Regions from separate parts of the Homo sapiens genome. Here regions 1, 2, 3, 4, 5 and 7 are each linked to region 6. Evidence: promoter capture Hi-C in 16 types of primary human blood cells and fetal thymus (Javierre and others, 2016). All regions are on one chromosome and are shown on one strand. Each heading gives the region's core, a stretch centred on a gene start or on the middle of the fragment in contact. The rest is flanking DNA. Distances are from core to core; before and after follow the strand shown.

What was found. The method cuts DNA at HindIII sites, captures the fragments that hold promoters and counts their contacts. A CHiCAGO score of 5 or more calls a contact.
Region 1: a contact is called between a fragment that was not itself captured here and the fragment with the promoter of FLJ13224 in region 6, in 3 of 17 cell types (activated CD4 T cells, naive CD4 T cells and fetal thymus). The highest score is 11.1, in activated CD4 T cells.
Region 2: a fragment that was not itself captured here is called in contact with the fragment with the promoter of FLJ13224 in region 6 in 4 of 17 cell types (naive CD4 T cells, total CD8 T cells, total CD4 T cells and 1 more); the score reaches 6.6 in naive CD4 T cells.
Region 3: a contact is called between a fragment that was not itself captured here and the fragment with the promoter of FLJ13224 in region 6, in 1 of 17 cell types (total CD4 T cells). The highest score is 5.5, in total CD4 T cells.
Region 4: a contact is called between a fragment that was not itself captured here and the fragment with the promoter of FLJ13224 in region 6, in 8 of 17 cell types (activated CD4 T cells, total CD8 T cells, naive CD4 T cells and 5 more). The highest score is 7.3, in activated CD4 T cells.
Region 5: a fragment that was not itself captured here is called in contact with the fragment with the promoter of FLJ13224 in region 6 in 3 of 17 cell types (naive CD4 T cells, total B cells and non-activated CD4 T cells); the score reaches 7.6 in naive CD4 T cells.
Region 7: a fragment that was not itself captured here is called in contact with the fragment with the promoter of FLJ13224 in region 6 in 8 of 17 cell types (naive CD8 T cells, activated CD4 T cells, fetal thymus and 5 more); the score reaches 10.6 in naive CD8 T cells.

What each region holds. Positions count from the first base shown.
Region 1 is chr12:29,373,893-29,376,592 of GRCh38, forward strand. All of the region lies in intron 1 of ERGIC2 (ERGIC and golgi 2), which reads right to left. Among named protein-coding and RNA genes, the nearest start is that of ERGIC2, 5.9 kb to the right of the region's middle. The HindIII fragment of the contact is 2,633 bases long and covers 1-2,599 here.
Region 2 is chr12:32,735,824-32,738,523 of GRCh38, forward strand. DNM1L (dynamin 1 like) reads left to right here. Exons shown (of 20, transcript NM_012062.5): 14 at 1,282-1,338; 15 at 2,042-2,119; 16 at 2,441-2,473. Among named protein-coding and RNA genes, the nearest start is that of YARS2, 19 kb to the right of the region's middle. The HindIII fragment of the contact is 481 bases long and covers 1,104-1,584 here.
Region 3 is chr12:29,398,035-29,400,734 of GRCh38, forward strand. All of the region lies in intron 1 of OVCH1-AS1 (OVCH1 antisense RNA 1), which reads left to right. Among named protein-coding and RNA genes, the nearest start is that of OVCH1-AS1, 10 kb to the left of the region's middle. The HindIII fragment of the contact is 2,493 bases long and covers 164-2,656 here.
Region 4 is chr12:32,692,139-32,694,838 of GRCh38, forward strand. All of the region lies in intron 1 of DNM1L (dynamin 1 like), which reads left to right. Among named protein-coding and RNA genes, the nearest start is that of DNM1L, 14 kb to the left of the region's middle. The HindIII fragment of the contact is 2,885 bases long and covers 1-2,700 here.
Region 5 is chr12:32,762,149-32,764,848 of GRCh38, forward strand. No RefSeq gene overlaps it. Among named protein-coding and RNA genes, the nearest start is that of YARS2, 7.6 kb to the left of the region's middle. The HindIII fragment of the contact is 2,225 bases long and covers 224-2,448 here.
Region 6 is chr12:31,323,045-31,325,744 of GRCh38, forward strand. FLJ13224 (a long non-coding RNA gene) reads left to right here and starts at 1,272. Exons shown (of 1, transcript NR_026806.1): 1 at 1,272-2,700. All of the region lies in intron 1 of SINHCAF (SIN3-HDAC complex associated factor), which reads right to left. RefSeq lists an enhancer at 2,195-2,700. The HindIII fragment of the contact is 3,270 bases long and covers 390-2,700 here.
Region 7 is chr12:32,674,416-32,677,115 of GRCh38, forward strand. No RefSeq gene overlaps it. Among named protein-coding and RNA genes, the nearest start is that of DNM1L, 3.5 kb to the right of the region's middle. RefSeq lists an enhancer at 1-978. The HindIII fragment of the contact is 2,972 bases long and covers 1-2,700 here.

The DNA of each region.
Region 1 (2,700 bases), core at 33-2,532, 1.9 Mb before region 6:
CGCTAAACTTGTTTAGCTCTGATAATCAAATTTATTTTCTGTACCTTTTTAGTAGTAACTGCACAAAAACTGACCCTTTTTCAATCTTTCAATTTCTACTCTTTCTGATTTGAGTAAAATATTAAATATCTGTATGTCTCTTCTCTTTAAAACAGAACTCTCCCTTAAACTCAAGTCCAACTCCAACAATACATCTCTCGCAGCACACCTACAGCCAACTTAAAAGAATGAGTTGTCCCCATTCATCTACTGTGACTACTTCCTCACCCAACTCTCACCTCTTAACTAAATTTGCTCTGAGCAAGGTAATTAACTTCCTTAGTACTGACAGACACTCCTCAGTCCTTATCTAACTGCACCTCTGAGAAAACACACTGCTTATCACTTCTTTTTCTTCTCGAAACATTCTCTTACCTTGACTTAAGTGATATCACATCCCCAATTTTCATTCTACCTGGAAAACCCTCTTTGGCTTACTGTGCAAATTCATCTTTCTCTCAAGATTCTGCACTAGGTCTCCCCCTTAACCTCCACACCTTCCCCAAATGATCGCCCACTCCTTCCATTTCAATCTGCATGTTGATTTATCCCAAATCTTGATTCTCTGCCCAGATCTCTCTGCAGATATGTATAACCCCTTGCCTTCTGTTACCTTTTCATTTGGACATTCCAAACACAATTCAGACTCAACAAGTCCAAAAATGAATACTTCACCCTGTAAAAATTGTTCCTCCTGTATCTATCTTAATGATAACACCATAAGCCCAACTACACAAGCCAGAAACATGGGTTATATCTTTAGACTTAAGCTATTTCTAAATTTCTCTTAAATCTGCCTGTCTTCTCTTCTTCAGGCCTACTGAGAAATTCCTTATGTCCAAGTATGTTCCTAGTCCCAACTGCCACAATCTATCACTACATTGCTTCAACAACCTCTAATCTTCAACCTTCCAATTCTCTCTCTATACTGTAATAATAAATTATCTTTTTAATACATAAATCTGATATTTCTCTTCAAATCTTTGTAAAACTTCCCTTCCCACTACACTTAAGAGCTTGGATTCTATCCTAACATGTTTTACAAAGCCCTTCAAAAACCAGGTCCTGCTAACCTCTCTTCAAACCCAATCACTCACAGTCTACGTTCCAACCATATTAAATCACTTTCAATTCCTTAAATATCCTATTCTCTTTGCCAGAAATATTTTTTCTTCCCCCTACCGCATCTCTACATTTGACTAACTCCTACTTACTCTTCAAGGTCCAGTCTACTCATCTCTACCTTGAGCAAGCAGGGGGAACAAAAAAACTTTCCATGGCCTTCAAAGTCTATCTGCTTCTAGAACGTTGTACCTTTATCACACTATTTCTAATTGCCTCTTTTTCTGTTTCCTCCACCGGATTGTTAGAGCAGGAACCATGTCTAACTTGATCTTTGTATCTCCAATGCCTAGCGAACAGGTATTCAATATTTATTGAGAAAAGGAAGGAAGGAAATTTTCCCAGAAACACCACAGTAGCACATCTTTCAAATCACAGCAGTATGTCATACTTAGGTAAGTAAATATATAAAAATAAGATCCACAAGAAGGATTTTCCTGTTGTCTACTGTCCCAGGACCTAGAACAGTGGCCATCACATAGTCAGTATAGCACTGTTAAACAAATGAATAAAACAGTGAATTACATTTCTAAAAGTTTATATAAATGTTATATTTGTATAATGAGCTTTCTAAATGCTCTTTTAATTTATATATAAGCATAAAGATACGGCAAGCAGTTAGTTTTACAAATCTCCTAATAATACATACAACCTATTCAACACTCCTCCCTTGAAAGTCTAGCTGGAATATATCATGTGGCTCCCTACCCATCTCTAGCTTCCTCCATCCCTGTTTTCCAGGGGATATCACTCTAGAATGGAGCACCTCGCCCCTCAGCTACTCCACCAGTCCCATTCCTGAAAGCTCAGCACTAACCTACCTCCAAGAAATTCATTCCATTTTGCATACTTGCCAACCTACTGTAAAAGTCACTGTCTGGCATAAACAAGGTATCCAATAACTTCTAGCTTTTCTAAAAGAAATTGCTGTCTGCTCTCTTTATAAAACCTGACTTTCTATTGGCAGCAGTTCCATTCCAATCCTTAGTCATTTCTGAGACTCACAGGTTACAGAAGTATCATGTTTTACCATATTTCTCAACCATCTCTCATGTTTTGTGCTATGTATTATTTGAAGCTCTTTAAACATTAATTCATTTAATCTTGTAAATGACTCTATGAAGCAGCAGGTACTATTTTTAATCCTACTTTTTGATGAGGAAATGAGGCACAGAACTGTCAAATAATTTTCCCAGGCTACATAGCAGGTGGTAGAACTTGAAACTATGCTCCAAACCACAGTACACACTGATTCTCACTTCCGTACTTGTTGCTATATTCCACTAACATCTGAATATATTCATAATTTGCTTAATGACTTCAGCACCCAGATCATTCAATATGCTTCTCCCCCACTCCATTATCATCCTTTGGAATTCATGCTCTGATGGCATTTATCCTATAGCATTCATTCACAATAAAACCTTTTTACCATGTAAGCTTAACAGCGCTTCTCCTCCTGTGACCTCCATCTTAATTCTATGGAAAGCCACCCATGAGCAAGGTCAACCCTTAAAACTGTTCCACCTCTAAAATCCA
Region 2 (2,700 bases), core at 94-2,593, 1.4 Mb after region 6:
CCAAGATCACACCACTGCACTCCAGCCTGGGCGACAGAGCGAGACTCCATTTCAACAAAAAACAAAAACAAAATCATTGTGAGGCTTTAACTTATATTTTTTTGCAAGTTGGACTGTGTTCATGAAATACTTCCTACTTAGGAGCAATTGTGACTTTAACCTAAATAGTTTCTACTTTATCTGATGCTGCCTGTGAGAGATCCATCATTAATTAACATCTACAGATTTCTATATCTTCATAATCTTTTTTTTTTTTTTTTTTTTTTAAGACAGAGTCTCACTCTGTCGCCCAGGCTGGAGTGCAGTGGCATGAGCTCTGCTCACTGCAACCTCTGCCTCCTGGGTTCAAGCAGTTCTCCTGCCGCAGCCTCCTGAGTAGCTGGGATTACAGGTGTGCGGCACCATGCCTGGCTAATTTTTATATTTTTAGTAGAGACAGGGTTTCACCATTTTGGCCAGGCTGGTCTTGAACTGCCCTCAAGTGATCTGCCCACCTTGGCCTCCCAAAGTGCTGGGATTACAAGCATGAGGCACTGTGCCCGGCCAATATTTTCATAATCTTTTACCTATCTTGGTGCTTGGATATAGCAGATGCTCGGGACATTCTAATTTGAATTTGTCAGTTTCTTTAGCTTTGTACAAGTTACTTTGATAATATTAGCAAATTAGAACAGTAGGCAATTGATCAGTGTGTTAAATTAGCCAGGTTACAGAAAGGACTAGCAGTTGTCAACACTATTTCCTGGAGGAAGAAATGGAACATTTTTATAGGATAACCTCAACCACAGATACTTCTTCAAGATACGGTTTTATGAGGGGAGTTGTTTGAGTTTAACACAAAGGTGTTCAGGTTAGAGTGACTTTTAAAGGCTTTGCGGAGTTTTCTGTGATCTCTGGACTTCAAATTCCACATGGTTATGTTGAAGGCTTACCACGTTCCACATTTATGTGAGGACAGTTTACATCACTGTTTCTTAGTGGGAAAGGGGGAGAAGATGGCAGTCTGTTGCCCCTCATTTGAGAATCCCCAGTACAGGGAGCCACTGTTACTGACAGTGTATTGTATCCTTCAGGTGTGTGGGCAGAAAAAAAAAAGATTAAGAAGCTTTGGGTTAAATGATTTCTTATTTATTTTAAAATATGATAATTATGGCATGAGTCCCAACAGTGAGAGGATGTATCTGTAAGTTACTCCACACTTTTCAATTAACATGAACATTTTTTAGTAGGCATATATCTCAATACTTGGATAATCACTTTTGTTTTGCTTGTGTTTCTTAGGAACAAAGGAGAAACAGGCTAGCCAGAGAATTACCTTCAGCTGTATCACGAGACAAGGTAAAAAAATGTTTTTAATGCATATTCCCAATACCTAAAGATAGATTGATGAGCTCAGAATATTACTCAGTCCTAGGAGTAATTTTTTCTTCTTTTCCTCCCTTTAACACTCCATTGGAACTAACTGAGTAAAGGCATACAAGTTTAAAATGGGTTTTGAGTGATTTAAAGATAATAGTATTTTGAATTCACTGACATAAATGCTTAAAAGTAGATTTAAGCATTTATTTAAGCATTTAAGCATCAAGCTTTTTAAAAAAATTCAGTCAGTGACTTTATCAACTTTGCACATAGCTGAAATGACTCAAGATTTTATTATAATAAGAGGGTTTCTTGGAAAAAACAGTATGCACAGAACAGAGGTTTTAATTACTAGTAATAATTAAAATAGTTGTAATACTAAAGTGTGTATAAAAATCTTTTACCTTGAATTCTTTGCCAGAAAAGAATCTTATTAAATACCAAAAATAAAAATGAAGCTTTTGGATTTGGATTTTTCTTATGTATTCATCTGAAGGAAACTTTTAACAAAGGTGACAATGGTGAAGGAAATAAGGCAGAATAAACAATCTCCCATGATTATTTTCATCTTTCATGTTATTTTACGATTTCATTACAGAAGGGAAAAATTCATTTATAGAATGTTCCTGAATGCATTTTTGCATCCTTGATTTTTTTTCCCCCCTGGATTTTTTGCCTTTAGTCTTCTAAAGTTCCAAGTGCTTTGGCACCTGCCTCCCAGGAGCCCTCCCCCGCTGCTTCTGCTGAGGCTGATGGCAAGGTCTGTTCTGATTCTTAATCTAAGCCTGCATGCCTTGTTCTCTGGTACAACATAATCTTCTGGAAACAATACACTGAATAGAAGAATATTAATATGGGATACTGTGCTAAGGTCAGATCACTTTAGTCTAATATATATTTTAAAATTATATAACAATGCAATGCATAGTTTATATTGTTGACATGCTTTTGCTTGCAATATAGAAGATGCACACAGAAAAAGTAATTTAAAGAGGAAATTATCCTGCACTTTTTGAATTTCAACCCATTGGTATTTAAATTTTGCTTGTTAAATTGCATGTTTTAACATATCTTTTAACAGTTAATTCAGGACAGCAGAAGAGAAACTAAAAATGTGAGTCTCTTGCTTCAGAATGGAAATGTTGGTACCTTTGGTTCTCACTGAAACACTGTCTATACCACCATTAAAGAACCTGTTTGTGTAGTGGTATCTATCTCTTGTCTGTGTTATGTTCTTAATGTTCCTTTTATCTAACCTGTGGAAGATGGCATTAAACGTTGTTTTAATTAGTAACAATAATAGGCTTTCTCACTGTTTTGTTACCTTCAAGAATAGTTTTA
Region 3 (2,700 bases), core at 160-2,659, 1.9 Mb before region 6:
GTGATCCACCCGCGTCGGCCTCCCAAAGTGCTGGGATTATAAGGGTGAGCCACCTCGCCCGGGATTATAAGCATGAGCCACCGCGTCCAGCCTTAACTATTTTTTTTTTTTTTTGTTCAGAAACATTTTAAAGGACTCAAACGGGAAGAAGAACCTCTTTAAAAGCTTCATTTTAGGAAAATACATAAGATAATAGATACAATTTATTGGAAGTTTACTAGGTGCCAACTATCATTTATGTGATTTAAATGTAGAAACTCCTTTATCTTCAGAATATCCCTATGAGTAGATGTATTACCTCCACTTTATAGATGAAGAAACAGAAGTACAATGAGGCTAATTTTCCCAAAGTTATAACACTACTTAATGGTGGAACTGGGATCTGAACCCAAGGACTCTGACTTCAGAACCCAATACTCATAATCCCTGTGTCCCAAGGTTATTAACGGCATATTCAAAATATTTGAATGAGATTAGTTTTAATGAATAAATGAGCTAAATGGAAAGGTCAAGTAATATCTCACTCCTGGAAGACATACAAACACATTTAAAACTGTTTTCTCATACAAGAAAGTAGATGGTAGAAAGTGTAACTGCTAATGTTAACAACTAGGCTCATTGTTACAAATGACATCAGTAACCACAAGTCACAGTGACACTGTGGGCTTTCTAGGCATAGGGAACTGAAAAGAATGTAAGGGCTTACTGAGGAACTTCTAAATACCTAGACAGGAGGAGAACAGTTTCCAACCTGAGGAGCTAGTGTTGTTAAAAGGGGCTTTAAGTATTTCATATCGTGTAGTATTTTATATTTGCAAATATATGTAAATTATGGAACAAGATAATAAATATCTGTGAGACCACCATCCAGCGTAACTAGAAGTGGATAGCATTGCAATGGCTCCTGTGTGACTCTTCCAGCTTATTCCACTACCTCCCCACAGCTCTGGTGTGATAGCATTGCCTTGCCTTTTTAAACCTAAACAAACGATTTAATTTTACCTGTTTCTGAGCTTCATGTGGTGCCTAATTTTCTAAACTTGGTTTTTAAACTCAACGTTGTTGGTTTTTAAACTCAACATTGTTTCTAAGATTCACTAAAGAGCCTGTGGACTGTTGTATTTTACTGCCATGCAAGCATTATACTATTTTGTTTATACCATCTCCTGTAATAGACATTTGTAATTCCAACTTTTTGTTGGTGTTTCTGTAAACATGCCTGTACATATCCAATGGTCCACGGTTACATCACTTTCCTGTGGGACACAGGTCTCAAACCTGGCTGCATATTAGAATCACATAAGGAGTTTGTTAAATTATTCTTCATGCCCCAGATACATACATTTGATTTTATCCATGGCTGAAGACAATGCTGTAGGGTATATACCTAGAGATGAACTTGTTGACTGAGAAGACACTGTTATTTTCAACTTTACTGATATTGTCTGAGTTTTCCAAAGCTGGAGTACCTAATTATACTTTCCCACCAGCAGTGAGAAGAGTTCCTCTTACTCCATATTCTCATTATCTGTTGATATTGTCACCCTATGCATTTTGTTTGCCAAGTTAAACAATTAAAATGGCATTGCTGACTCCTTCGGTATTGTTTTATTGGTCTGTTTATTTTTCTCTGCAGCAATACCACCCTTTCTTTTTTTTCTTTTTTTTTTTTTTTTTTTTGAGACAGAGTCTTGCTCTGTCAGCCAGGCTGGAGTGCAGTGGCACGATCTCCGCTCACTGCAAGCTCCACCTCCCGGGTTCGCGCCATTCTCCCACCTCAGCCTCCCAAGTAGCTGGGACTACAGGGGCCCACAACCACTCCCGGCTAAATTTTTGTATTTTTAGTAGAGACGGGGTTTCACCGTCCTAGCCAGGATGGTCTCGATCTCCTGACCTCGTGATCCACCTGCCTCGGTCTCCCAAAGCGCTGAGATTACAGGTGTGAGCCACCATGCCCAGCCCCACCCTTTCTTAATCACTGTAGTTTTACTTTCTTTTATTATAATCCTTCTATTTTCTTCTGCCTCTGTCAGAGTTTCTTAGTAACTTTGGACCTAGCAGTTGTTTTTGTTGCCATTATTTAATAATTTGGTTAAAATTTACTCTCATACATACCAGTGGGAAATAGAAAAACACAAGTGCTAATATTATGAATAATAAAGTTGAGACAAAGATGCAATCAAGAGATGGGCCAACATTGTTAATCTTCAGCGAGAATAAGATACTTACTAGACTTAAGTTGTTGACTGTTTGTTAAATTGACAAGGAAAGTGTGAAATGTTGGCACTACATCATTGAAACACATATCAGAAAGAAAAGGTGAAGGGTTAGAGGAAATGAAGTAATGTAATTTATGACTTAAGAATGAACAAAAAAATTTTCCAATGATCCATGTGACAGGAGAAACTCACACTATGTGGAGTTGTTGATAGGGAAATAGCTTGTTACATAAGAGATGGTGTATAAAACATAAATACTAAACTAAACCAAGTCAACTATTATTTAAACCTTAAAACTCAGCTCAAATATTACATTCACTTATTCCTGCAGAAAACAGTAGTTGTTCCTGCCTAGGCTGCTGGCTTCTATAGCATGTTGAATAGTAGTTATCTTCATGTATTGTTTTTCTCTATTATAATGAGATTCTACAGATGAAAGCTTTCTCTTTCTAGGTGTCTCTGTCTGGCACACAGTAGGTGG
Region 4 (2,700 bases), core at 30-2,529, 1.4 Mb after region 6:
GGTGGTGATATATATTTTAATTATTTAAAATTTTGCTCATTCCATTCTATAGAATAAGATTTACATTTAAGCAAAATTAATTAAAATCTAAGCAGAGAGATCAAGTTAAGCACAGGCTCCAGGAAGTCCTGCTGGGATCTCAGGAATAGCGACAACATGTTAAAAGTTTTAGTTTGAATGTCTGGAATTTGTTTGTTTGTTTGTTTGTTTTGGTGCATTCTAGAGTCTCCAAGAGTCAGTCACCATGAGTACCCGTGAGGTAGATGATACTTATTTTAACAGCACCTAAACTGGGGTTTAGGAGCTATATTTTCCAAGAAGTGACTCAGTCTAATTCTGAAATGACAAAAGCAGTTCATATCATTTTATTCACACTTGAACTCCACTGGAGTCAGGGATGAAATGTCATCTTCTATTCCAAGAATGAAGTCTTCAGATAATGTCCAGGTGCTTCAGAACTAACTAGTCATCATAAGAACACAGAGTCCATAATTTCTCCAATGTATAGTTTTTTGTGGTTTCTAGAAGCATCAAATGAATCACAGTGCTACCAAACTCCACACAGAACTAGTCACAGTGTCCTTCCTATCCATCTTAACATTAGGCTCATTTTTACATTTCAGGTATTTGTACATTTTCATAGTATAATAGGGATATATCAGGTGGAAGTTCCACTCACTATCAGTCACAAAGTAGCTGTAATCTGTATATATGTTTTTACACAGTCATGTGAAATTTATTTATATACACACATATAATCCCAGTTTGTTCACTTATACTGCTATATAATGGTCCATTATAGGAATATATCCTGTTGAAATTTGTGTGTTCCCCAGTGTTTGCTATAGCTGTTTTTGTAAACAGTGGTACTGCGGATATTCATATAAATGTCTCATGTTTGAGAATTTCTCTAACGAATCAAGGAGTGGAATTGCCAGACTGTAGGGTATATTTATTGGATATTGCTATTGCTTCTCAGGATGGCTGTAATTTACATTCCCATCAACAGAGTGAAGTTTATTTATATCTGTACTTTCTATAGTCACATTTTAAATTTATGGTACCTCATTGTGGTTTCTATTGCATCCTCCTGATTACTAGTGAGTGTGAGCATCTTATCATGTTTCTTGGCTCTTTGAGGTTTTGTTTTGTGAGTTTTTGTTGATATCTCTGCACATTATTTTGTTAGGTATTTTTAAGAATTTGATTTGTGGGAGTTATTTATACATTTTGGTTACCAGTTACTTATGGATCACAAATGTTTTCCCTGAATTTTTTCTGTGAGGAAAAGAAGTTTTAATTTTATTGTGGTTGAATTATCTTTTCTTCTGTGGTTTTGTACATTTTGTATATTGTTTAAGAAGTCATTCTCCTTTATTTTGTTTTTTAACAGCTTTACTGAGATACACTCTATACCATAACATACCCATTTACAATGTGTAATTCAGTGTTTTTTTTAGCATATTTATAGAGTCGCACAACCATCACCTTAAACTTTTCTTTTTTCTTTTCTTTTTAAGACAGGGTCTCACTCTCTTGCCCAGGCTGGAGTGCAGTGGCATGACCATGGCTCACTGCAGCCTCAATCCCCTGGGCTCAAGTGATCCATCTGTCTAAGCCTCCCGAGCAGCTGGTACTACAGGCATGTGCAACCTTGCCTGGCTAATTTTTTTATTTTTTGTAAAGATGAGGTTTCACCATGTTGCCCAGGATGGTCTTGAACTCCTTGGCCTCAAGTGATCTGCCTACCTTGGCCTCCCACATTGCTGGGGTTACAGGCATGTGCCACCTCGCCTGGCCTTTCCATCACCTTTAAACTAATTTTAGAATATACCATCATTCTAGAAAGAAACCTGGTATCCATTAGTAGTCACTCCCCATTCTTCTTCACTCTGTCCCTAAACAGCCACATAATCTACTTTCTAGCTATAGATTTGCCTATTTTGGACATTTCTCTTTTTTTGAGATGGAGTCTCGCCCTGTTGCCCAGGCTGGAGTGCAGTGGCACAGTCTTGGCTCACTACAACCTCCGCCTCCTGGGTTCAAGCAGTTCTGCTGCCTCAGCCTATCCTGAGTAGCTGGGACTACAGGTGCGTGCCACCTTGCCCGTGTAATTTTTGTATTTTTAGTTGAGATGGGGTTTCACCATGTTGGCCAGGTTGGTCTCGAACTCCTGACCTTGTGATCCGCCTGCCTTGGCCTCCCAAAGTGCTGGGATTACAGGCGTGAGCCACCGCGCCCGGCCATATTTTGGACATTTCATATAAACAGGGTCAAATAATATGTGGTCTTTTGTGACTGACTAACTTTAACTTAGCAGAATAATGTTTTTAGATTCATCCATGTTGGAGCGTGCATCGGTACCTTATTCCTTTTTATGACTGAAGTATAAAATAACTTTTATAAGACTAAACATTAGTCTTGATACCTCTAGTGGATTAAATATCCATATTAGGGATCCTGGGAAGATGACAGCAGTGGTAGAATAGTTTCCTAAATATCTATATGACTTTCCCCTAAAACAGAACAAATAGGATAGGAAAACCAAAAACACATAGAAAATGTGTACAAGAAAATTAGTTGACTATGTTTCTCTACAAACGCTCAAATACCAGCAGATTGGGAACAAACCATTGTTATCCATACTGGAAGAAGCAGAAGGAAGCAGTGGAACTTCTGATGGAGCGGAGAATTGTAAAT
Region 5 (2,700 bases), core at 86-2,585, 1.4 Mb after region 6:
GCAGAACCCTTTCCCCAACATCCACCCCTTCTGCTCTGAGCTTGGTGATAGCCGCCGCAGTCCCCTACCAGCATGTTCTTTCCCAGGCCATGTTGTCGGGACTGTAATTCAGCCATGACTGGCAAGCAACGAATCCGCCTGGCTGTTTGCTAATGTGATGAGAAAAGCAGGCTTCCCTCTTAGAAAGAGGATCTTGGAGACACTATTGTGATTGCATCTGAAAAGCTTAGATCAAATGGATAATGTCTTCAGTGAAGATCATTTTGGAATTTTCCTATTTATCAAGTTACCTTAGTAATTTTCTGGTCTCTCTGACAGAGTAGAAGTGAATCAATCAACTCATCATTGTCCCTCCATCAAGGCCAAGTGAATTTATATCTCCATTGGAGAAGAAACAAAACAATAAGCAATCATTCTATGTTTTGTAGAGCAATTCTATTTTGATTAAAACTATTTTTGTCTTTTTTTCTCAGTGTCTTCAATACGGACTTTATGTTTTTCTGTTATAAGCACTGACTGGTTAGTTACCAAAATGAGAAATAAGTCTGGAAACATCTCACTCATTAATGTTCTGTAACATCATAAGGGGAACAAATACCTTGTATTTACATAATGTTTGCAGAAAAGTCAAATATTACTTCCTTCATCCTCACAACCATAACAAAATGTGCTTCTGAGTCGTGGTCCAAAGACCATGGGACTAGGAGTCACAGACATGAGTAGCTATCTCAGCTTAACCTTGACTACCTGTTCCTCCTTAGATAAGTCATTTAACACACTAGCCTTGGTGTCCTCATTTTAGAAGTAAATGGGCTGGGCTTGGCGCGGTGGCTCATGCCTGTAATCCCAGCATTTTGGGAGGCCGAGGCAGGCAAATCACGACGTGGTCAGGAGATCGAGACCATCCTGGCTAACACGGTGAAACCCTGTCTCTACTAACAATACAAAAAATTAGCCAGGCATGGTGGCCGGCACCTGTAGTCCCAGCTACTTGGGAGGCTGAGGCAGGAGAATCACTTGAACCTGGGAGGCAGAGATTGCAGCAAGCTGAGATCTCGCCACTGCACTCCAGCCTGAGCGACAGAGCAAGACTCCATTTCAGAAAAAAAAGAAAAGAAAAGAAAAAAAAAAGTAAATGGGCTGGATTAGATGAATTCTAAAATCTCATTCACCTCTACAATTCTGAAATGCCTGTTTGCTATCACAGTAGTCAAAAGTCCCATTTATTGTTTCTCAGCTTTAACTTCATTATTTAAGCCACCACACCAGGGAGGAGGTTAAAAATGTATTCATCGGCCAGGCACAGTGGCCCATGCCTGCAATCCCAGCACTTTGGGAGGCCAAGATGGCGGATCACTTGAGGTCAGGAGTTTGAGACCAGCCTGGCCAACATGGTGAAACCCTATCTCTACTAAAATACAAAAAATAATTAGCCGGGCATGGTGATGGGCGCCCATAATCTCAGCTACTTGAGAGGCTGAGGCAGGAGAATCCCTTGAACCTGGGAGGTGGACGTTGCAGTGAGCAGAGATCATGCCTCTGCACTCCAGCCTGGGTGACAAAGTGAGACTCCCTCTCAAAGAAAAAAACAAACAAACAAAAAAAAGCCTGGGCGCAGTGGCTCACGCCTGTAATCCCAGCACTTTGGGAGGCTGAGGCAGGCAGATCACTTGAGGTTGGGAGTTCGAGACCGCCTGACCAACATGGTGAAACCCCATCTCTACCAAAAAATACAAAAAATTAGCTGGGCATGGTGGCACACACCTGTAGTCCCAGCTACTTGGGAGGCTGAGGCAGGAGAATTGCTTGAACCCAGGAGGCGGAGGTTGCAGTGAGCCGACATCATGCCACTGCACTCCAGCCTGGTGACGGAACAAGACTCTATTACAAAATAAATAAATAAATACATCTATTTTCTCCTCTACTGAGGTTTGCTTAAGCAGTAGAAGCCAGTTTAAGTCATGCTTACATGGCTGTTATTAGAGGGAAACTGTATTATGACAAGTTTTGAAAAATTAAGATTGAAGATTTAGAAAGTGATAGTTGACCAATGAAACATATATCATATTTGCAGAAAGATCCAGTGAAAATCCAAGCAGCTTTGCTCAGATCCAAACAGTTTCAATTGCCATTGATCTCATTCAAAGCTGCCCGTGGGTGGGAGACCGACCTGGAAGGGTGTCACTAACAGAGATAGCAAATGAAAACAACTCCTCTGTATTCTCATAGCTATTTTTTTCTAAAACCAAAGGAAATCTTAGACACCCATGCCCCTTCCCATTGTATGTCTCACGTAACTCTTCTCCAAGCACAGTTTAAGGAGGTTCAGGGGAGTGGCAATCAGGGACACAATGGTGTCAGATGGTGACCAAATATCTAGCACATAGCACCAACTGAGACACCTTTCCAATGGACTTGTAACATGATGTCACACTATATATTTGAGAAAGCTTCCAGTAAATAGGTGAATGTAGCCCTGGTTTATATGCCTCTTGTCTCAGCCTAATTATTTATATGACCCCTTTTATTCTCGAAAATGTCCTGTTTTGGGAATAAATTTTACAGACATTCTATCTAACATTTCTACTCTGGAAAACAAGTTAATTTTAAAAATGGGTATTTTTGAAACAGGGTCTTGCAATGTCCAGCCTGGAGGGCTGTGGCATGATCACGGCTCACTGCAGCCTCGACCTCCCAGGC
Region 6 (2,700 bases), core at 22-2,521:
CCTGAGCAGCTTCCTCCCCAGCCAGCTCCCCAGCCTCCTTACAATGTTTCCAAAAGGCCCAACTCCCTAAACATTTGCTTCTTCAAGGTCATCCTAAGGCACTGAATAACCACCAAACACTGAGTCACGCATACCTTTCGCCTAAAAAAGATCCCCCTTCCCAAAATCATTATATAAATACTTTAAATGCCATGAGGGTTTTCTCCGAAACTCCACCAGAAACAAACTCCCAGACTTTTAGATTGGGCAACTAAATGTGTTCAATTTTGCGACATAAAATTTTAAAAGGCTTTTCAAGTCTGGCAAATTCCAGTTCAAAAACAGGTGCTTTCAGCGTACTCTGAATAACAAGGTCAAATTCATTTTTAAATTATTAAAAGAAAAAGAAAAGCTTTTCTTAACCCTCCTTAGGACAACTTAAGAAGGGGGAGAAAGAATTGCTGGGGTAAAACTGTCTCGGATAGGGTCCCTGTTTAACTCAAGAGTAAATCCTAATCTTCCGAGTGCCTGAAGTAATGGAAGGTTACAGGAAGAAAATAAAAACAAAGAAACTGACTAGGGTCATAGTTACCAGAACAAACTGCACCGCCCTACCACCTCAAGAAACCAACTCCCCCTACACCAAAACAAACCTTGCCCTTCCCCGCTCCCCCCACCCCCTAGAAACACACAAAGAAACTGGCCGCACGCACAATTCGCCCACAGTCCTCACTTCCCTTAGTAGGGCAACAGGGAGCCCCGGAACTTCCCCACGGTGGTTTATCGGGCGTCGTCGGGGCTGGGTCCCCTGGACTTGCGGGCCACAGCTCGGCTGGGGAGGAGGTGCTCGCCGCCCTCACCCGTTTCTCTGAAAGCAGTAAAATGCCTCCCCGCTCCTCCCAGGGCCCTCGGGTCCCCACCTTCCGTAAATCGTGCTTCCCCCTCGGGCACTCCGGTGACTGCCGAGAGAGACGCCGAGCCAGCAAGTAAGAATGCTCCCTGGTGGATTTGTTGGTAAATAAGACATCTCGCGTCGGGAGGAAAGTTCCTGCGGGGGCCGCTCGCCGGGGCGAGGGCGAGGGCAGCGGGAGGTGAACCGCGTCGCTCGCCGCCACCTCCCTCACCTGCGCCGGAACAACGGGCCCCGCGCCAGCCCGGCCCGGCGCCTCCCGCAGGCCGCGCCTCCCGCACGCCGCGCTGCCGGGGCTTGTTCCTCCTCATGGCTTTGCCCTGACGTAATTCAAACATGGCAACAGTTCGACTTCAAAGGCGAACCCACAGACCTCCCAGACACAGGCTCCCGGGCCACGAGAAACCGGCCGAGCAGTCCGGGCCAAGCTCCCCGGAACCCTCGGCCGTCGCAACCCCCGACGCCAGGGCTGAAGCGCCGGGCACTGCCGCCTCCCTCGGTCGCCCGCCCGCACGCCCGGAGCGGGGAAGCACGCCGCCTCCCTACGCACCAGCATGGCACCTCGCACAAGTAGCGCCGCCAAAGTTTCCCCACGAGGGGGCTGAGGGACAAAAGCCCCTCCCGAAACTCGCCCGAACTTCGAGGGCCTCCGACCTGCACGGCCCTACGCCCAGGCGGCGGCCCCGAGCGCCGGGGGCCCGCACGGGCACATGCAGCCCTTTGTTTTCTGTCCAGCCGGGCGCTGCCTACGTGCAGCATCAGGGATGTCGGAGCGTTTCGCAGGGGCCGGACACTGGACGATCACCCTGGGTAGGGGTCCGGACCCCGCGCCCCGAAGAGTCCGGAGCCTGGCCCCCCGACCCTCCCCTCGGGAGCAGGCCCATTTAATCAAAGTTTTGCAGTGTCCTTGATGAGAAACGCCCGGAGTATCCGCCCCGCACGGGCGGAGAGTTGGCGACTTTCACTCTGCTTTTTAAACTGGCAAGACGCCATCATCAGCAAACCACATTGTCCTGCCGGCCGGACCTGCCCGACGGCGGCCGCATCCCACGGCTCACGCGGGGCTGGACATTCGGACAAGGACCAGGGTCGCAGCCCGAAGCACGTGGTCTGTCACGTAGAGCACAAAAAGCAGTGCCCTGCGGAGTTCACTGACTCCCGCGGCGTACACAACGCCGCCGCCTCCATCTCCAGCCAAGTTGGCTTCCCTGGCCATCTTACAGCGCGGACGGCCGCCCATAAACGGGAAGCCCTCGCGGTGTCGCCCACACCTACGCTACAGGTGAACGCACCGGGAGCAAAACTTCGGGCTCCGAAAGCACCCCGGACACCAGAGGCTCTTGGGCGCGGTCCGAAGAGGGCAGGCGAGTGGAAGACGGGCTGTTTTTAAGCGACCGCGTGTTGCTCTCATTGTCGCATCCGCATCCCTCCGGAGTTGAGCAAACAACGCCACGCCGCGTGCGCTCCGGCAGAGCCCAGCACTGACCCCCAAAGGCCGATTTAAAGACCCTCGGCCGCCAGCTCGGAAGCGGATGGCAACTTAGTTTCCGAGCGAATGGCGTTTATTGTCCACCCTAGTCCGAGGGCTGCAGTCAACTAAACCACGAGGTTTCACAACGGCGCCCGACCCTGCCCGCGCCTCGCGCCCACGCGGACGCACCGACCCCGGCCGCTGCGCGGTGGCCAACGAGTCGCTTTCCTCTCGGGCCTTTCGGCCGCCGGGCTCCTTTCCGCGAGAGAACACTGCGGCGGAGAAAAGTCATTGTCACCTTCAACGTGGATCCCTCAACTCCGGCGACTCCTCAATTATG
Region 7 (2,700 bases), core at 117-2,616, 1.4 Mb after region 6:
GCAAGGAGGTGAATTCCCTGCTAGAGGCTTTAGGAGGGTTTGCAGCCCTGGTGACACCTTGATTTTAGTCCAGTGAGACCTGTGTGAGACTACTGAACTATAGAACTGTAAAACAATACTTTTTTTTTTTTTTTGACATGGAGTCTCACTGTGTTGCCCAGGCTGGAGTGCAGTGGCGTGATCTTGGCTCACTGCAAGCTCTGCCTCCCAGGTTCACGCCATTCTCCTGCCTCGGCCTCCCGGGTAGCTGGGACTACAGGTACCCGCCACCACGCCCGGTTAATTTTTTGTATTTTTACTAGAGACAGGGCTTCACCATGTTAGCCAGGATGGTCTCAATCTCCTGAACTCGTGATCCGCCCGCCTCGGCCTCCCAAAGTGCTGGGATTACAGAAGTGAGCCATTGCGCCTGGCCACATTTTTGTTGTTTTAAGCCACTAAAATTGTGGTAATTTGTTAAGGCAGCAATAGGGAACTAATATACTAGAGAAGCAAGGCAGAAACCAGGTTCCTAGGTTTCAGTTCCTCCCCAGTTCTCTCTGCCTCATCTGCTGTGAGACAGCTTGCTGAATGAGATCCCCTACACCCTCCCCCACAGCACACTCACCTCATTCCACAGGAGTAAACTGCGTGAGAGAATGAAATAGACGATGTAGTGATAAGATGTAGAGCTCTGATTCTGCCTGAGCTCCTAGTTCCAGTCATTTTTTTTTTTGAGGTGGAGTGTCACTGTGTCACCCAGGCTGGAATGCGGTGACGTGATTTTGGCTCACTGAAACTTCCGCCTCCCGGGTTCAAGCAATTCTCCTGCCTCAGCCTCCCGAGTGGCTGGGATTACAGGCTCTCACCACCACCCCCAGCTAATTTTTGTGTTTTTAGTAGAGACGAGGTTTCACCATGTTGGCCAGGCTGGTCTTGAACTCCTGACCCCAACTGATCCACCCATCTCGGCCTCCCAAAGTGCTTGGATTACAGGCTAGAGCCACTGCGCCCAGACATTCAGTCATTTTTGAGGCAAGTTAGCTCAGAATTAAATTTCTGTCCTTACAATTAGCTATCCTGCCTAAATCATAAAGCTATGGTGAGAGAGGGATGGTTGCAGGAGAAGAGGTGTTTTTTGTTGTTGTTGTTTTTTTTTTTTGAGATAGAGTCTCACTCTGTTGCCCAGGCTGTAGTGCAGTGGCGCGATCTTGGCTTGCTGCAACCTCTGCCTCCCAGGTTCAAACAATTCTCCTGCCTCAGCCTCCCCAGTAGCTAGGACTACAGGCGCGTGCCAGCACGCCTGGCTAATTTTTTGTATTTTTAGTAGAGACGGGGTTTCACCGTGTTAGCCAGGATGGTCTCCATCTCCTGACCTCGTGATCCACCCACTTCGGCCTCCCAAAGTGCTGGGATTACAGGTGTGAGGCACCGCACCTGGCCGAGAAGAGGTTTTTTTAAAGGCCTTTTGATATCCGATAATGGTTTAATGTGATTCCCACAGGAAGCCACTGAAGAACACATTATTCTTAGATGCACAAAGACTCTTTTTTGTGGGAAATCCATTTAGCCACTTATTAGTTAAATTGATTTCCCACAAACAAGAGTGTTCTGAACTTAAAACATGAAAGCCGAAATTGGTTTTTTTTCTTCTTTTTTTTTTTTTTTAGTTGGAGTTTTGCTCTTGCCGCCCAGGCTGGAGTGCAGTGGCGCGATCTCGGCTCACTGCAACCTCTGCCTCCCGGGTTCAAGCGATTCTCCTGCCTCAGCCTCCCGAGTAGCTGGGATTACAGGCACGCGCCACACCAGGCTAATTTTTTTTTTGTATTCTTAGTAGAGATGGGGTTTCACCATGTTTGTCAGGCTGGTCTTGAACTCCTGACCTCAGGTGACCCGCCCACCTCGGCCTTCCAAAGTGCTGGGATTACAGGCGTGAGCCACCGGGCCTGGCTCTTTTTTTTTTTTTTTTTTTTTGAGACGGAGTTTTGCTCCTGTTGCCAAGGCTGGAATGCAATGGTGCAATCTCGGCTCACCGCAACCTCTGCCTCCCGGGTTCAAGCAATTCTCCTGCCTCAGCCTCCCGAGTAGCTGGGATTACAGGCGTGCACCATCACGCCCAGCTAATTTTTGTATTTTTAGTAGAGATGGGGTTTCTCCATGTTGGTCAGGCTGGTCTTGAACTCCCGACATCAGGTGATATGCCCACCTTGGCCTCCTGAAGTACTGGGATTACAGGCATGAGCCACCGTGCCCGGCCTTCTGTTTTCTTTAGAAGAAAACAAAAGCTCCATCAACAGAGGGGTGAGAAGCAAAGTGGGTAATATCTGACTATTATGTAATATTATCTTTGGTAGAAAGTCAAGAGACTTGGAATAAAACTGTTTTTTGGAGTTCTGAAATTTTTGTCTTATTTTATCTCTGAAAAATTTTTTTTTTGAAAATAATCAAAGAGGAGATGTTCACAAAACCTGTCAAGATGCCAAAACACCACTAATGGATCTTTAGGTCTTGGCTTACTTCATCCATTTGTTCACAGATATTTATTAAGCACCTGCCATTTGTCCTGCTGAACAAATCAAGCATGTTCCCCGCAGCCATTGTGTACAGCTAAGCAGGTGAATGGCACCCACTGGAGTTGCGTAGTGCACAACTTCCACTACTGCTGGTGGTTCTTGTCCTCATGGAGATTAAATTTAGTAACTTCTAGGAAGTCTTTCTCGA